2 separate regions of the Homo sapiens genome follow, and region 1 is linked to region 2. The links are contacts of gene promoters, found by promoter capture Hi-C in human tissues and cell types (Jung and others, 2019). All regions are on one chromosome and are shown on one strand. The core of a region is centred on a gene start or on the middle of the fragment in contact, and the rest is flanking DNA. Distances in the headings are between cores, read along the strand shown.

What was found. The method cuts DNA at HindIII sites, captures the fragments that hold promoters and counts their contacts. A contact is called where the count stands out against the background at its distance.
Region 1: a fragment that was not itself captured here is called in contact with the fragment with the promoter of CAMKV in region 2 in 1 of the 25 tissues and cell types used here (bladder).

Annotation. Positions count from the first base shown.
Region 1 is chr3:49,831,177-49,838,507 of GRCh38, forward strand. TRAIP (TRAF interacting protein) reads right to left here. Exons shown (of 15, transcript NM_005879.3): 11 at 740-892. Among named protein-coding and RNA genes, the nearest start is that of UBA7, 21 kb to the left of the region's middle. The HindIII fragment of the contact is 4,817 bases long and covers 1,004-5,820 here.
Region 2 is chr3:49,866,038-49,873,112 of GRCh38, forward strand. It overlaps CAMKV (CaM kinase like vesicle associated), which reads right to left and starts at 3,869. Exons shown (of 11, transcript NM_024046.5): 1 at 3,721-3,869. RefSeq lists enhancers at 1,689-2,621, 2,622-3,553. The HindIII fragment of the contact is 8,966 bases long and covers 2,348-7,075 here.

The DNA.
Region 1 (7,331 bases), core at 2,162-4,661, 35 kb before region 2:
CCAGCTGGCTTGCCCTCTTGCTCCCTTCCACCTCCACTGTCTAGCATCTCAGTTTCTTTCTCTTTCTCTTCTTTCTCTCTGTACAAAGTCTTTGAAAAAGAGGAAACCTGCCCAGCCCTTGACCAGCCTCACCTGAACAGTACCTGTATGAATGAGTATAGTCCTTGTCTCCACAGTGAATTACACTTGGCAAAGCTGGCCAAGGAGACAGCCTCCCTTTTTCTGGTCCCACCGTACCCCAGAGCAGGTTCCACCTGCCCCACTGGAATTCCAGACAGCTTCTCATGCTTGCCCCTGTGGGTCACCCCCTTGGGTGGTAAGGCCTTGGGCTCTGTGGTTTGAGATGATCCTCCCTCAGGCATGAGCCTCAGAGGCAAACATAGAAGAGGAAGTTCAGAGTCCCTCGCTCAGGACTCTGGTGGGCAGGCCTTCAAGGTATTGGGAGCACCCTCTCCAGCCCAGACCCACCCCTTCTGGCATCACTGCATTCTCTCTAACTTGCATTCCAATACGTTTGCCTTGAAAGGTGATGGTGAGGAATAATGAGAAAAGAGAAGGGGTTTGCACAGATTGAGTGCTCAGGTGAGGGAACAAGAGGTAGCTGGAACCAAAGCCATGGCCAAGCCTAGGCAACCCTCACTGCCCCATCAGCCACTCAGAGCTAACAGCACAGGGCCTGCAGAGCTGTCTTAGCTATCCCCCTACCAGCCCATGGACAGTGCCAGCGACTATCACTCACTGTGACTTCTCTAGGCAAAGTTTTTCGTAGTAACCATGCTGGGAGCTGGAGGGCCGGGCTGGGGGAGTATCCACATCAAAGGTAGCATTGAGATCAATATCATCACGGAAGGATGGCCGGCGGAGCTTCAGATTCACCTCCACAGGGGCTGGGCTGAAGGCAGAGATGACCTGGTTACTTGGGGCCACAGTGGTAACCCAGGACAACAGCTCCTGAAGCATCAGAGATAACTCAGCTCCAGGGACCTGGAGCCCACTCCTGACTCAAGGCCACCCCTCAAGAGAGCCCTACTCTCGGCCAGGCACAGTGGCTCACGCCTGTAATCCCAGCACTTTGGGAGGCCAAGGCGGGTGGATCAAGCGGTCAAGAGATCAAGACCACCCGGGCTAACATGGTGAAACCCCATCCTACTAAAAATACAAAAATTAGCTGGGTGTGGTGGCTTGTGTCTGTAGTCCCAGCTACTCGGGAGGCTGAGGCAGGAGAATTGCTTGAACTCGGGAGGCAGAGCTTGCGGTGAGCCGAGATCGCGCCACTGCACTCCAGCCTGGGCGACAGAGCAAGACTCCGTCTCAGGAAAAAAAAAAAAAAAAGTTTAAATTTAATTTAATTTAAAAAGCACACAAAACTCCATGTATAGTGCAATTACATGATTTGGCACCCCCCCACCACTCCCACATGCAGAAAAAGGAGAAGGAAATATTCCACATGTCAACCATAAGTACCTCTATGATAACTCCCTATTTTCCAAATTCTCAATGAGTGTGTTTTTACTTTTATAACACGGGGGGGGGGGGGGGGTGGGGGGTGGGGAGTGAAGTTTTATTCTATTAAAACTACAGCCGACAGGATTCTTCCAGCCCACCCAGACCTGGCAGGGCTCCCCACCTCCTGTCATACAAGGAGAACCCTGGGGAATGGCAAGGGTAGCTCCAAAGATGCCTTCTCTCTTTCCTTCCTCAGGAACTTTTCAGAGCTGCACCACAATCCCACTTCCACTGGGGTGTACACATCAGAGGGAGGAAGCCTACCTGCATTGATTTGGGTGGCTAAGCAATCCAGGCAGCCTGGACTATTTCTTCCTTTCCCTGTCCAGGACCCTAGAAGCTCTACCTCTGTCCCCGCCTGCAAGTTAAAATGAAGACTGCACAAACCCACCTCAAACCAACTCTAGGCTGGCTGCTTTGCTTCCTCCTCTGGGAACCACAGCAGCCAGGACCACTCATGCCAACTTTTTTGCAGTATCCATATTCTGCCACCATTTACCAACCCCAGCAAGTTGAGGCTCAGGTTAGGAAAGGTAAACTCAAGAGGAAGGCAGGATCTCGCTGGGTCCTGTAAATTTTACCCTCCAGGTGGCTCAAGGCAGGACTTTCTACTCCCAGCCATCCCCTAAGGCGTTGCCTAGTGGTGCCCAAGCTCAAGGCAAGCCAGGCTTATTCACTTGCACCTCCTGGTCATCCACAACACTAAACTCAAGACTCAGGAGGTTCTCACGGTGCCTCCCTCACTCCCCATATCCACATCTGGATCATATGGACACATTTCTTCCTCTCTTAGACTGTTTCTTTTTTTTTTTTTTGAGACGGAATCTTGCTCTGTCACCCAGGCTGGAGTGCAGTGGTGCGATCTCGGCTCACTGCAAGCTCCGCCTTCCGGGTTCAAGCCATTCTCCTGCCTCAGCCTCCTGAGTAGCTGGGGCTACAGGCGCCCGCCACCACGCCCAGCTAATTTTTTGTATTTTTAGTAGAGATGGGGTTACACCGTGTTAGCCAGGATGGTCTCGCTCTCCTGACCTCGTGATCTGCCCACCTCGGCCTCCCAAAGTGCTGGTATTACAGGCATGAGCCACCGCGCCCGGCCTTGTCTTAGACTGTTTCTATATTCTTCTTCCTTCATGAGCTTGAAGCCTATTTCCCTTTCTGCCAGGGGTCCACTTTCTTTCCTTCCCACTTTCTGTTTGTCCTACAAGGAGAAAGAACCTAGGGCTTAGTAGTCCTTCCCTCACTGGTTGAGGCTGGCTTGAGGCCCTCCTGAGTGACACTATCACCCTTGGGACACCCACCCATGGTCAAGTTACAGGGCTTCATGCCAGAGGCCTCAGGGAGCCAGGCAAGACACTCAAAGCTCCCCTTTCCAGAACAGAGCTAAGGCCTTGAGCAGCCCATTGCCTGCGTGGCATGGGATTAGTCAACATCTCCTCCATGAACTCATGGCTCCTGGCGGCCTTACCCTACCCTAAGGAAAGGTCTCCCTGGCTGTCTCTAGCCTGGAGTTCAGGGGCCCTTGGGGCCCATGAGAGAGATCTTCCTAACATTGACTCTGTAGTTGGGGGTGGTGGCTACATGCTGATGCCTCCCTAAAATGACAGGTATGAAGGGTAATCCTACTGCAACAAGTAGAAGGGGCAACCACCATCAGCCCCCAGAGATTTCCAAAAAATTCTGGGAGACAAAGCATGGCCAGGGGACAAGAGACTGACACAGCAGCCAGAACCCACAAGGAGGGGGTCCATGAAGGAAAGGGAGGGCCTTGCAAAAGCATTAAACAGGCCTGAAAACTGGAACACTGATGAAATTGTGAGCTTGGCTCCACCCCATCCTAATCTGCATTGGTAGAACACTAGGCAGTTAGGCTGCTGCCCTGGGCCAATAAATAGAAGAGCTTTTCTCAAAGACACTAAACAAACTATGTACAATGACCTAGGGCAGCCAATATTATTGGACCCAACAGTAAAGCCTTCTGCATCCTGGGTTCAGGTAAGACTCAACATGATGCCAGCAGTCTGCACATCCCCCCCAAACCCTACCCACATAGGTTGGCCTCCAAAGTAGCCAAGGACCACCAGGTATGGGAGGGGAGCCCAGGAAAAAGTCCATGGTGCACAAATACTGACTCTGAGACAAACAGAAATATGAGACCATAAAACAAGAACATGATGCTTTGCAAAACAGACATACTCAAAGAGCAAGAAAGAATGCTTGCAAATTTAAAACATGAATACTGCCAGGCACAGTAGCTCACGCCTGTAATACCAACAATTTGGGAGGCTGAGGTGGGAGGATGGCTTGAGGCCAGGAGTTCAATACTGACCTGGGCAACATATTAAGACTCTATCTCTACAAAAAATAAAATTAAATAAATTAACTGGGCATTGTGGCACATGCCTGTAATCTCAGCTACTTGGAAGGCTGAGGTGGGAGGATCCCTTGAACCCAGGGGGTGGAGGTTGCAGTGAGCCGAGATCGTGCCACTGCACTCCAGCCTGGGCAACAGAGCAAGACCCTGTCTCAAAAAAAAATTAAATATGATTACTGATTCAGCCCTAAAAAGGAAGAAAATTCTAATACATGCTACATGGATAAACCTTGAAGACATTATGCTAAGTGAAATAAGCCAGTAATAAAAGGACAAATATTGTATGAGTCCACTTATATGAGGCTCCTAAAGTAGTCAAATTGATAGAGACAGAAAGAATGGTAAGTGAAGGAGCTGAGGAGAAAGGGGAAAGGGGAGTTATTGTTTAATGGGTATAGAATTTCACTTTGGGAAGATGAAAACATTCTGGAGTGGGATGGTGGTGATGGTTGCACAGCAATTAAATGTACTTGATGCCACAGAAATGTACTTAAAAATGGTTACAATGGTGAGTTTTGTTTATATTTTACTACAATAAAAAATACTGCTGCAGTAAAAAGTTATAAAAATTAAGAAGCTTCTTAAAAAACTTAAGAAACTTCTTGGCCGGGCACGGTGGCGCACACCTGTAATCCCAGCACTTTGGGAGGCCGAGGTGGGTGGATCACAAGGTCAGGAGATGGAGACCATCCTGGCTAACACGGTGAAACCCTGTCTCTACTAAAAATACAAAAAATTAGCCGGGCGTGGTGGCGGGCACCTGTAGTCCCAGCTACTCGGGAGGCTGAGGCAGGAGAATAGCGTGAACCGGGGAGGCGGAGCTTGAAGTGAGCCGAGATCGTGCCACTGCACTCCAGCCTGGGCTACAGAGCAAGACTCCATCTCAAAAAAAAAAAAAAAATTCTTAATTTTTTTTTGTTTTTGTTTTTGCGACAGTCTCGCTCTGTCATCCAGGCTGGAGTACAGTAGCACGATTCTGGCTCACTGCAACCTCCACCTCCCAGATTCAAGCCATTCTTGTGCATCAGCCTCCCAAGTAGCTGGGATTATAGGCGTGTACCACCACACCTGGCTAATTTTTGTATTTTTAGTACAGCCACCATATCCAGCCAGAGATTTATTAATTTTCCTAATTTTAAATTAAGAAATGGTGGTGGCTGGGTGTGGTGGCTCACACCTATAATCCCAGCACTTTGGGAGGCCGAGGTGGGAAGATCACTTGAGATCAGGAATTAAAGACCAGCCTGGCCAACATGGTGAAGCCCCATCTCTACTAAAAATACAAAAAACTAGCTGGGCATGGTGGTGCGTGCCTATAATCCCAGCTACTGGGGAGGTTGAGGCAGGAGAATCTCTTCAACCGGGAAGCGGAGGTTGCAGCGAGCCAAGATTGCACCACTGTACTCCAGCCTAGGCAACAGAGCAAGACACTGTTTCAAAAAAAAGAAAAGAAAAGAAAAGGAAAAAGAAAAAGAAAAAGCAAAGCAAAGCAAAGCAAAGCAAAGCGGTGGCTCACGCCTGTAACCCAGCACTTTGGGAAGCCCAGGCAGGAGGATCGCTTGAGGCCAGGAGTTCAAGACCAGCCTGGACAATAAGTGAGACCCTGCCTCTACAAAAAATTAGTTGGGCGTGGTGGTGCATGCCTGTAGTCAATCCCAGCCACTCAGGAGATTGAGGCAGGAGGACCACTTGAGCCCAGGAGGTGGAGCTGCTATGAGAACAGTGAAAATTTACTGAAGTTTACCAGCTTCTTCATCACCCTCTCCCCTGGATACTGGAAATGTTCTACTAGACCAGATTTCCAAAGTGGTTGCTTCAGATGGTTTCAACCAGATCAACTGTTGCCATGGAGAGATGGATTCCTGGAGCTTTCTACTCTTCCATCTTCCTTGACATGACTTTTTTTTTTTTTTTTTTTTTTTTGAGACAGGTCTCACTCTGTCGCCCAGACTAGAGTGCAGTGGCGTGATCATCACTTACTGCAGTCTTGACCTCCCAGGCTCAAGTGATCCTCTCACCTCAGCCTCCCGAGTAGGTGGCCCAAGAAAACTTAAGACTTCTTCCAGACCTCTGTAGTAACACATTAGCAGTCACAGGAGAAAGGTAGAGGCAGAGTCTTTGAGGTCACTTGTAGTTCTGAGGGTCTTGCCATCAGAACACAAAGAAGACAGGGCAATGCCGTTGCTGAGGATTCAACAACTATTTTTGAGAGTTTGAGGCTATGAGTTTAGAAGAGGCTGTGCCTAGGCTGGGCATGGTGGCTCACGCTCGTAATCCCAGCACTTTAGTCCCAGCTACCCAGGAGGCTGAGGCAGGATCACATCACCTGAGCCCAGGAGGTTGAGGCTGCAGTGAGCTGTGATCACACCACTGCACTCCAGCCTGGGCAACAGAATGAGGCCCTATCTCAAAACAAACAAACCAACAAACAAACCAACAAACAAACACAAGAATAGACTGTGCTGGTGCTGCCTAATGCCTAGTTAAAAGAAGGGCTTTTGCTAAAAACAAACAGACCTGCCACCGTAATTTTTTTTTGTTTTTGCTTGAGACGGAGTCTCTCTGTCACCCAGGCTGGAGTGCAGTGGCACGATCTCGGCTCACTGCAACCTCTACCTCCCAGGGTCAAGCGATTGTCCTGCCTCAACCTCTCAAGTAACTGGGATTACAGGCGCCTGCCACCACACCCAGCTAATTTTTCTATTTTTAGTAGAGACGGGGTTTCACCATATTGGTCAGGCTGGTCTCGAACTCCTGACCTCAGGTGATCCACTCACCTCAGCCTCCCAAAGTGCTGGGGCTACAGGTGTGAGCCACCACGCCCGGACTTTTTTTTTTTTTCCAAGAGAGACGGGGTCTTACTCTGTCTCCCAGGCTGGAGTGCAGTGGCACAATCATAGCTCGACTCTTGGGCTCAAGTGATCCTCCTGCCTTGGCCTCCTGAGTAACTAGAACTACAAGTGTGTGCCACCATGCTTGGCTAAGTTTTAAGTTTTTTGATACAGGGTCTCACTATGTTGCCCAGGCTGGTCTTGAACTCCTGGACTCAAGCAATCCTCCCACCTTGGCCTCCCAAAGCACTGAGATTACAGGTATGAGTCAATGCACCCAGCCAACCACTTCAATATTTATGCCCAGAAAAATACTGGAGACAAAAATGAATGAAGTCATCCTCATGTGGCTTGATGAGAAGCCCAGCCCAGCTTACAGAAGAAGGCTTGTCAAGTTTAGTGTCCTGCTGGCCTGAAAGCCAAGGGAGACCATTGCTGTCCTCCCTGTACCAAGATGGGCTGCAGGCCCTGGCATGAAGCTTACTCAGAATGAGGTGGGCCCGTCCCCAACTGGGAGCTACAGACCAGATTCTATAATGTAGTATATAGCTGGTTGGCTGTGGGCTTAGCCATCTAAGCTCCAAGCTCATCTATCCCACTGGAACATAAGCTCCAAGAGAACA
Region 2 (7,075 bases), core at 2,619-5,118:
GAGATGGGAACAGATCTGTCTCCCCTGCCCCCTACTATGGCTGCCCAAATTTCAGCCAGTCACTCCTCCTCCTCCTCCTCCTCACCAGTCTAAGTATACTGGCTTGGGGCCCTGGACTTGGCCCCAGGGCAAAGAGAGGAGAAAGAGGGGCCTGGCTTTCAATTAGCACCTTGGTTCCCTCTGCCCACACCCACTCCACCATCTGCTATCCACTGTTGCTCCCTGGGAGGTTTCGGGTGTGTGCACCAAGCCCTGGGCACCTGCTTGCAACAAAGGAGACCTGGGAGGAACAGCCAAGGGACAGCTCTCAGAAAGAGAGGAGGCCAAGTGGAAGGGGTTTGTATTTTTCACCCCCATGGCCCAGACCCAACACCCAACAATGGAGAGCTCTCCTCTCAGCAACACAGGATCTGAGCTCTTCCTCAGGTACACTTAGGCCATGGAAGGGCATGGGAGCTCCACAACAGCCATTTCCCTGGAGACATGGCTCCCTCCACTCTCTGCAGAGGAACTGAACAGTATGCACTACCGGCTGCCCAGAGGGAGCTTGTGGGGAGTGCAGGCCCTGGTGCGGCCATTGCCCTCCAGCTGGCTCTCATGGAGCCTGAGAGCCAAGCACTCCCCAGTTATGGCCTGCTCCCAGGGCCTGACCACTGGACTCAGGGAATTGAGCCTCCAGCAATCCTGAGGGGTCCTCTGTTGGTGCCCTGGTGATAAATGGTCCCCCAGGGACTCTGCTGCATCTTTAGGTAAGTCTGGCCCAGGGAAAGCCCAAACGGGACAAAGGCCAAGAGGTCCGGAGGCCCCACATTGGGGTCCTGTCCCCTCCTCCGCTGAGATCATCCTGGTTCAGGCCCTACCTTTCATAGACATAAACAGAGTTTCCTGCTACCTTGGTCCCCTGCCACGTGGGGCTCCAGAGCTTGCAGTAAATCTAGGGAGGCCAGGAGGGGCCCAAGAGGCCTCCAGCTGCCTCCCAACAACTGTAGGCAACACCTCCTAATTTAGTGGCAGCTGTGAACACCAGCCTGCAGGCACCCCCTCCTCTCTGCTGCTCTACTCTCTCAAGGGCTGGGGCTGGGTTTCCTGCTGCAATGAACATGCTGAAGCCCAAGCCCTGCTTAACTCACAGCTGAGGTGTCACCCACAGGACCAGGGGAGCTGAAGACCTCCCTCAAGGTCTGTTAAGAACAAGGGCCAAGCTTCTAGACCACCATCCAATTGCTTCAGGGGACCGGTCAAGGGGCTGCCCTGACTGAGCCTCCGGCTCGAGCTAAATCATGGTAGAAGTTCCTACAGCTGAATTTTGCCCATCTAATGAGGGAGTATTGTGGGGAGGTCTCTCCAGTTTTGGGGGTGGGCATGCAGTCCAGTGCTACATCCCGAAAGTTTAGCTGTCAACATGCAGGCAAAGCCAAAGGCCAGCTGTCTCCTCCCAAGCACTTGGGGTCCAAATCTCTGAACCCCTGAAGGAGAATCCACTGGAGGCTCTGCTTCCCTGTGGGTGGAGGAGGGGAAATGCAGAGGAAGGCACTAGAGTAAAGGGTTGCTATGGTGATGGAAGTTTTAAAACAAGGGGAGGGGGAGGGGAGATGTGTTGGTCAGGTCCCTTCTTCAAGAATTTCCTGAGACCTTAGCCTGGCTGCTTCTTCAAGGTTCTGTGACCCAGGTCCCCATCAAGAAAGGGGAGGTGGGGAGATGGAGAGAATTTAGAAAAAAGAGAATGGGGCAGAGACACAGACAAAGACAGAACCTGTGATGGAAGAGGAGCAAGGAGATGACAAAGTAAAAGGGACACAGGCACAAAGGGCAGGAAAGGGGAGGTGGACGGGAGTTCTGAAGGGGGCGGATGGGTGCCCAGCAGAGCCCTAAGGCCTCCATGGCGATGTGCTCTAAATCCCTGGGCCAGGAGCTATCCATGGTACTGGGACCTTCGAGACTGCACCCTCCTGTATCCCCCAAACATACACTGAACTTGGTGTAGGAGGCACAGCCAAAAGGAGGCCAGCTCCTTGGAGCATGTTGGTGGGGAAGAGGCCAGCTGCTGCAGCCCCCCAGTCAGGACAGTTCCCAGCCCGTCTCTCTGCCATCACGGCAGCTTAGGTAAAGCAGGTCCAACATGTTGAAGGCAGACGCATAGGGGTATGGAAATGAGGCTCGGATGCCTGGCTGCTTCCCTTTATAGTCCCTCTTCTCAGTTGGCCCAGCTGTACTTAGACCCTCCCAGCCAACCCCTCCCCCATCTGCTATCCTTTCCAGGCTTTGGGTCCCCAGAGCCCCTCTTACAGCTCTGCTTAATCCCCTCTCACCAACCCCCAACAGCAGATCCTGCCATGAGTGCCAGAAACGGCACCACAAGCAACCCAGAAACAGGATAACCACACAGCCCTTCACCTCCCCATGCCTCAGTTTCCCCTAATGGAAACCATGGAATCTGGCCTTCTCCCAGGGCAGAGGACTGCTTGCCTGCCTGTGAATGGTGGCCAGGGCATGGGGCTGGAGAGTAGGGCCATCAGAGATATGTGAACAGCCAGCCTAGGAGAGCACCTGAAGGGTCCACACCAAATATTAGAAAAGGGAGACCCTTGCCCCACCCTGGAAACCAACCTGACTCTGAGTGGAGACACCAGTTCCCCAGTTGAGGAAACTGAGGCTCAGAAGTCGCTGGAGCTGCCAGGAATCAACTCTGAGGGTGGGGGAGGGCACCAGGTCTCTAAAGGTAGTCCTGGGGGCTCAAAGCCTGGACTTGGGGGTAAGGGGAGTACAGCACAGGGACTGGACTACTGCAGACTCTGAGCTTTTAGTGTGGGACAGAGGGCCCTGATCCTTAGGAAGGAACCTGGTGGAGCAGGATCTGCCTGGGAGGTGCGGACAAAAGCAATTTGGCAGAGCTATGCGGGGAGGGGGCTGGGGCTCAAGAGCCCAGGGTCTCTGCCAAACAGTACAAGCTGGGGAAGGCAGAAGCTCATGCTGTCACTATCCCAGCCACCTCCAGCCAGGGGCCCTGCTCCCCACCGTGCTGCCACCCTGACCCCTTTCCCAAGTGCTGCTGGCTCGCCCCCGCTGGCACAGCAACACACATGCGGAAAGCACACGTGTGAGCACCAAGCCCCGCACCTCCCAGCAGGAACATGTGCGCCCCCACCCCCACCGTGCACGTGGGTCCATGCACTGGACCCCCAGCTGGCACCCAGGTGAAGGCTTGGAAGCTGAATTTTGGCTGGGGGGCTGCTGGTCCCCAGGGGCTTGGAGCTTCCTCCCCCACCCCGCGGCAGCCCCGCCCAGCCCCCTCCGGGTTGTCGCCCATAAAGAACTCTCCGTTGTCATGGAAATTAGTGACTGCTAAGCGGGAGGGAAGGGGCCCGGGGACAGTTGGGAGGGGCTGGAGGCGGCTCTGGGAACGGGGAGGGACGGCTCAGCTCTCGGCCCCTATCCTCACGGGGGACCACGAATCTTCGAGGGTTAATCTTTTCACAATTCCGAGCCGCAGAAGCTTCCCCCCAGAACCCCCAAGCCGTCCGAGGTAATGGGGAACTTTAGCCCGACCCCGCACTCCCTCCCCCAAATCTGCAAAGCCCGCGCGCTCTGACCCCGCCAGGACCTCGAGCCCTCGCTGCGCCCCCGCGCACTCTGCATCCCGCACCTCGAGCCAGGGAAACAATCCCCCAAGGCCCCACAACCTGCGTTCGGGAAGCGCCCCCAGCCCGGCCCGCCCCGCACCTGCAGCGCCGGTTGGTCACAGGGAGGAAGTGATCGCGGGCTCAGCGGGGCGCCGAGGGCTCCGGGGACGGCGGGCAGAATCCGCTCCGAGCACGCGGGGCAGACGCGGCGCCAGATGCAGCCGCTTCGGCTAGCGAACCTCCAGCATCGCCAGCCGCTTGCCGGCACCGGATTCGCACCCCGGGCCGGGGGCGGGCTGGGGGCGGGGCCTCCCAACCGGCCCCGCCCCGACCCTGGCGGAGCCTTAAGGGCAGAATCCCACTGGAGAGCAGGAGCGCGCGGGATGGCAGCGGTGCTGGTGAGCACTGGCCTGCTTAGCCCTGGCCAAGGTTCTCAATGGCTCCCTTAGGCCCTCAGCCTGGGGCCGGAGGAGGCCTCCTATGCCCAATGTAAGGGGTGGTGAGTGGAGAGTTGGGGGAAAGCCTGAGTCCTGGAGCTGCATAGGATCGCTTGCCAGTCATTAGTCTCTAGGGAACGGGGCTTTGCCCAGCTCCCCGAACCCGACCCAAAAGGCAGGACCAACTTAGAAAAACCAGATGGGCAGTCGGGCTAGGGCAGGCTCCCCTAGCTAGGAGCAGTAAACACACAGAGGTGTGTGTTTGCAGGTAGTCAGTGTGGCATCCCCTAGCATCCCCTAGCTACGCATCCCCTAGCTAGGAGCAGTAAACACACAGAGGTGTGTGTTTGCAGGTAGTCAGTGTGAAAACAGTGAGGGCCCTAGACTGTAGTAGCAAAGTCTCCTATCCCACCCCATCCCCAACTCCTGCAAGGCCAGAGTCTTTCCCAAACATAAGTACCAGCAAGGGTGGCAGCACAGTCAGCCCCTTCCTGTGTGGCACCAAATTTCCCAAACTATAAAAGTCACCTGTGACATGGTGTGGCCTCTGCTTTCTTTTCAGTCTAATCACTGTCAAACACTTCATGAGTTGTATCACTCTAGTGGCCTGGCCTGGGATATGGGGACACAGGAGAACTGTGGCACCAAGGTATCCCACCTGGCCTGGGTGCTAATCAGAGGGAGGAGGCTCAGAACCACCAGGAGGAAGCTTTAAAGGAAGTCCTTGGCCATTTCTCTGTCCCTTGTCAGTGAGGCTCACGGACCCAAAGCCTGACCCACACCCCTCACAAGCCCTGAGGACCATCCTAAGGCCAGTATCTGAAGACCAGACTCAGGCCTCTCAGTGTCTGGAGCTGGGTTTTATCCCACCTCACTCCTCCCAGTGAGCCTCCTGACCCTGCTGTGGGAGAGGGAGTTGGGGTCATCCCCAAACCCTCAGCCATCTTGAGGCTGCCCTGGCCACCCATGGCTGATGACAGGAGGGACTGTCCAAGTCCAGAAGCTGGGGCTGGGGCTCAGACTGAAGGCTAGCTTAGGAAATGACCGCCTCAAACAAGGTTCCTCAAAATTTTCCTCCAGAGGGGGTACTGAGCCCTTCACCTTCCTCCCTGGCTTGGTGTTACCTCCTCTAGGCCAGGCTGGTGCCACTTCTGGGGTCCCTGGGCTCTGAGTGGTCTCGGGTTATGGGACCCACCCCACCACTGGGTAGGAATCTCCTGGCAGGCTGGGTATCTGCAAGGCAGAACCCGTTTCTCATCTCAGTATGCTCGGCTGATGTCTGCAGAATGAATGAATGGCCTGGCACTGAGTCCTTCCTGCCATCTGCCCACTATTCTTGAAACAATGGGTCTCTGAGTTTTATGGTGTAGCCAAGCTGTAGCTTGCTGACCCCACACATGCCACATACATGTTTTCTGTCTTTCCTGAGGGTCATGGCTATCCAGGCATGGGGGTCAATGAGAAGCTGGAATGGGGATTTTTAGGCAGGGGAAGGGGTGGCTCCTTAGCGCCCTGCCTGCTGCTGGCAGTACTCCACCTCTTCTTGGTCCTAAGCACGCTCTGTGCATGTGGGTGAGAGCACGTGGCAGGGTGTGTGTGCACACGTGTACGTGTTGTGTATGCTCTCTTTTGCCGAGGGAGATGCAACAGCACAGTGTATGCAGTGGTGCCCAGGGGCACGTGTGTCTGCATTCTTTGTGCACCCAGGCATGCTTGCTGGCACGTGTGTGTGGACGCTGTAGCTGGTCCCTGGAGTTATCAGTCCCCTTCCTGCCTGACACAAGTCTCAGGATTGTGGAGGCTGAATCAGGCTTTGAGAGCTGGACATGGGAAGGGGGCTGGACCATGTCCAGCAGTGGGCAGGGTCTGTGCTGACCCTACATCATTGGCTGTTTTCAGGCTCCCCACCAGAGCAGCCCCTTGATCTCTGGTGTATGTGAAGATAGACAAGTCTTTGCCATTTGTGGAGGGCAATCTGAAGACAAGAACCCAGGGCTAGGATTGAGCCATGGCTTATCCCTCAGCCCCTAGACAGGAAGGCACAGGCAGGGTAGGACCGGCTTCAATGTTTTGGCTTCAACCTCCAGCTGCCTTTCAGGCAGGAGATAGTAACATCAGCTGAATGCCATCCTCTTAGCTCTTCCAGGGCAGGGACGGGACCAATGCTGAGCTTTGTTCTTACTTCCACTATTCAAAGCCAGACGGGGTCAGGGGACATGATTTCTCACCACTCCACTGGCCAGAGTGATGGCAGGAGGCCCTTTAGCACAGACCAGAGTTTGGAACAAGAGCAGAGGCAATCCAGATTAGCATTGCCTAGTAGCCTTTATGAGGACCCTCCTAAGGAGGCCTGTACCCTGAAGACAGGGGCTGCCTGGGTTGGGAGGCTGAGGAGGAGAAGAGGGCCCAAGTTCGTAGTTCTGGCTCCCACCAAAGCTAGAAAGTCAGAGGGGCAGAATAAGGTGCGAGCCGCAGTATCCACAGAGCTTCATCCCCCAGCTCAGGTTGGGCCTCCTACCCAGGATCCAGGACTTATCTGTGCCCCCAACTCCCAGCTCTAGGGTGCCAAAGGCCGGCACTCCTATGCCCTTAGATTCTGGCTGGCTGATAGAAGCCCCTGCTAACCCAGCATAGCGCTCCAGCAAAGGTTCAGACTCTAGGAGGTACCTAGATTACCAGTGCAGCTCCCCAAGAAGCCTGAACTCTGACAGAACCCTCCCACCCCAGGCCCCCAGCCATCTTTGAAACTGCCTGACTGTTGTCCATGTTGCTTGGCTTCAGTCCCCAGAAGAGGGCCCACAATGGGGAAGGGCAAGCAGTCTTTTCCTCTGGAGCCAGGGGAGGGGGCTGCCCCCCGCCCCCCACCTTGTGACTCACTCCAGGCTGTGTGGGTTATTACATTATGTTTGAAATTGCCATGGCAACAAGCTGGCAATCAAGGGTAATTGCACTTGTCGTCAGGGCAACGGGGCAAAACCCACAGCAGCCACTGTCTGTGGTTGCCCTTGGGGTGCAGTA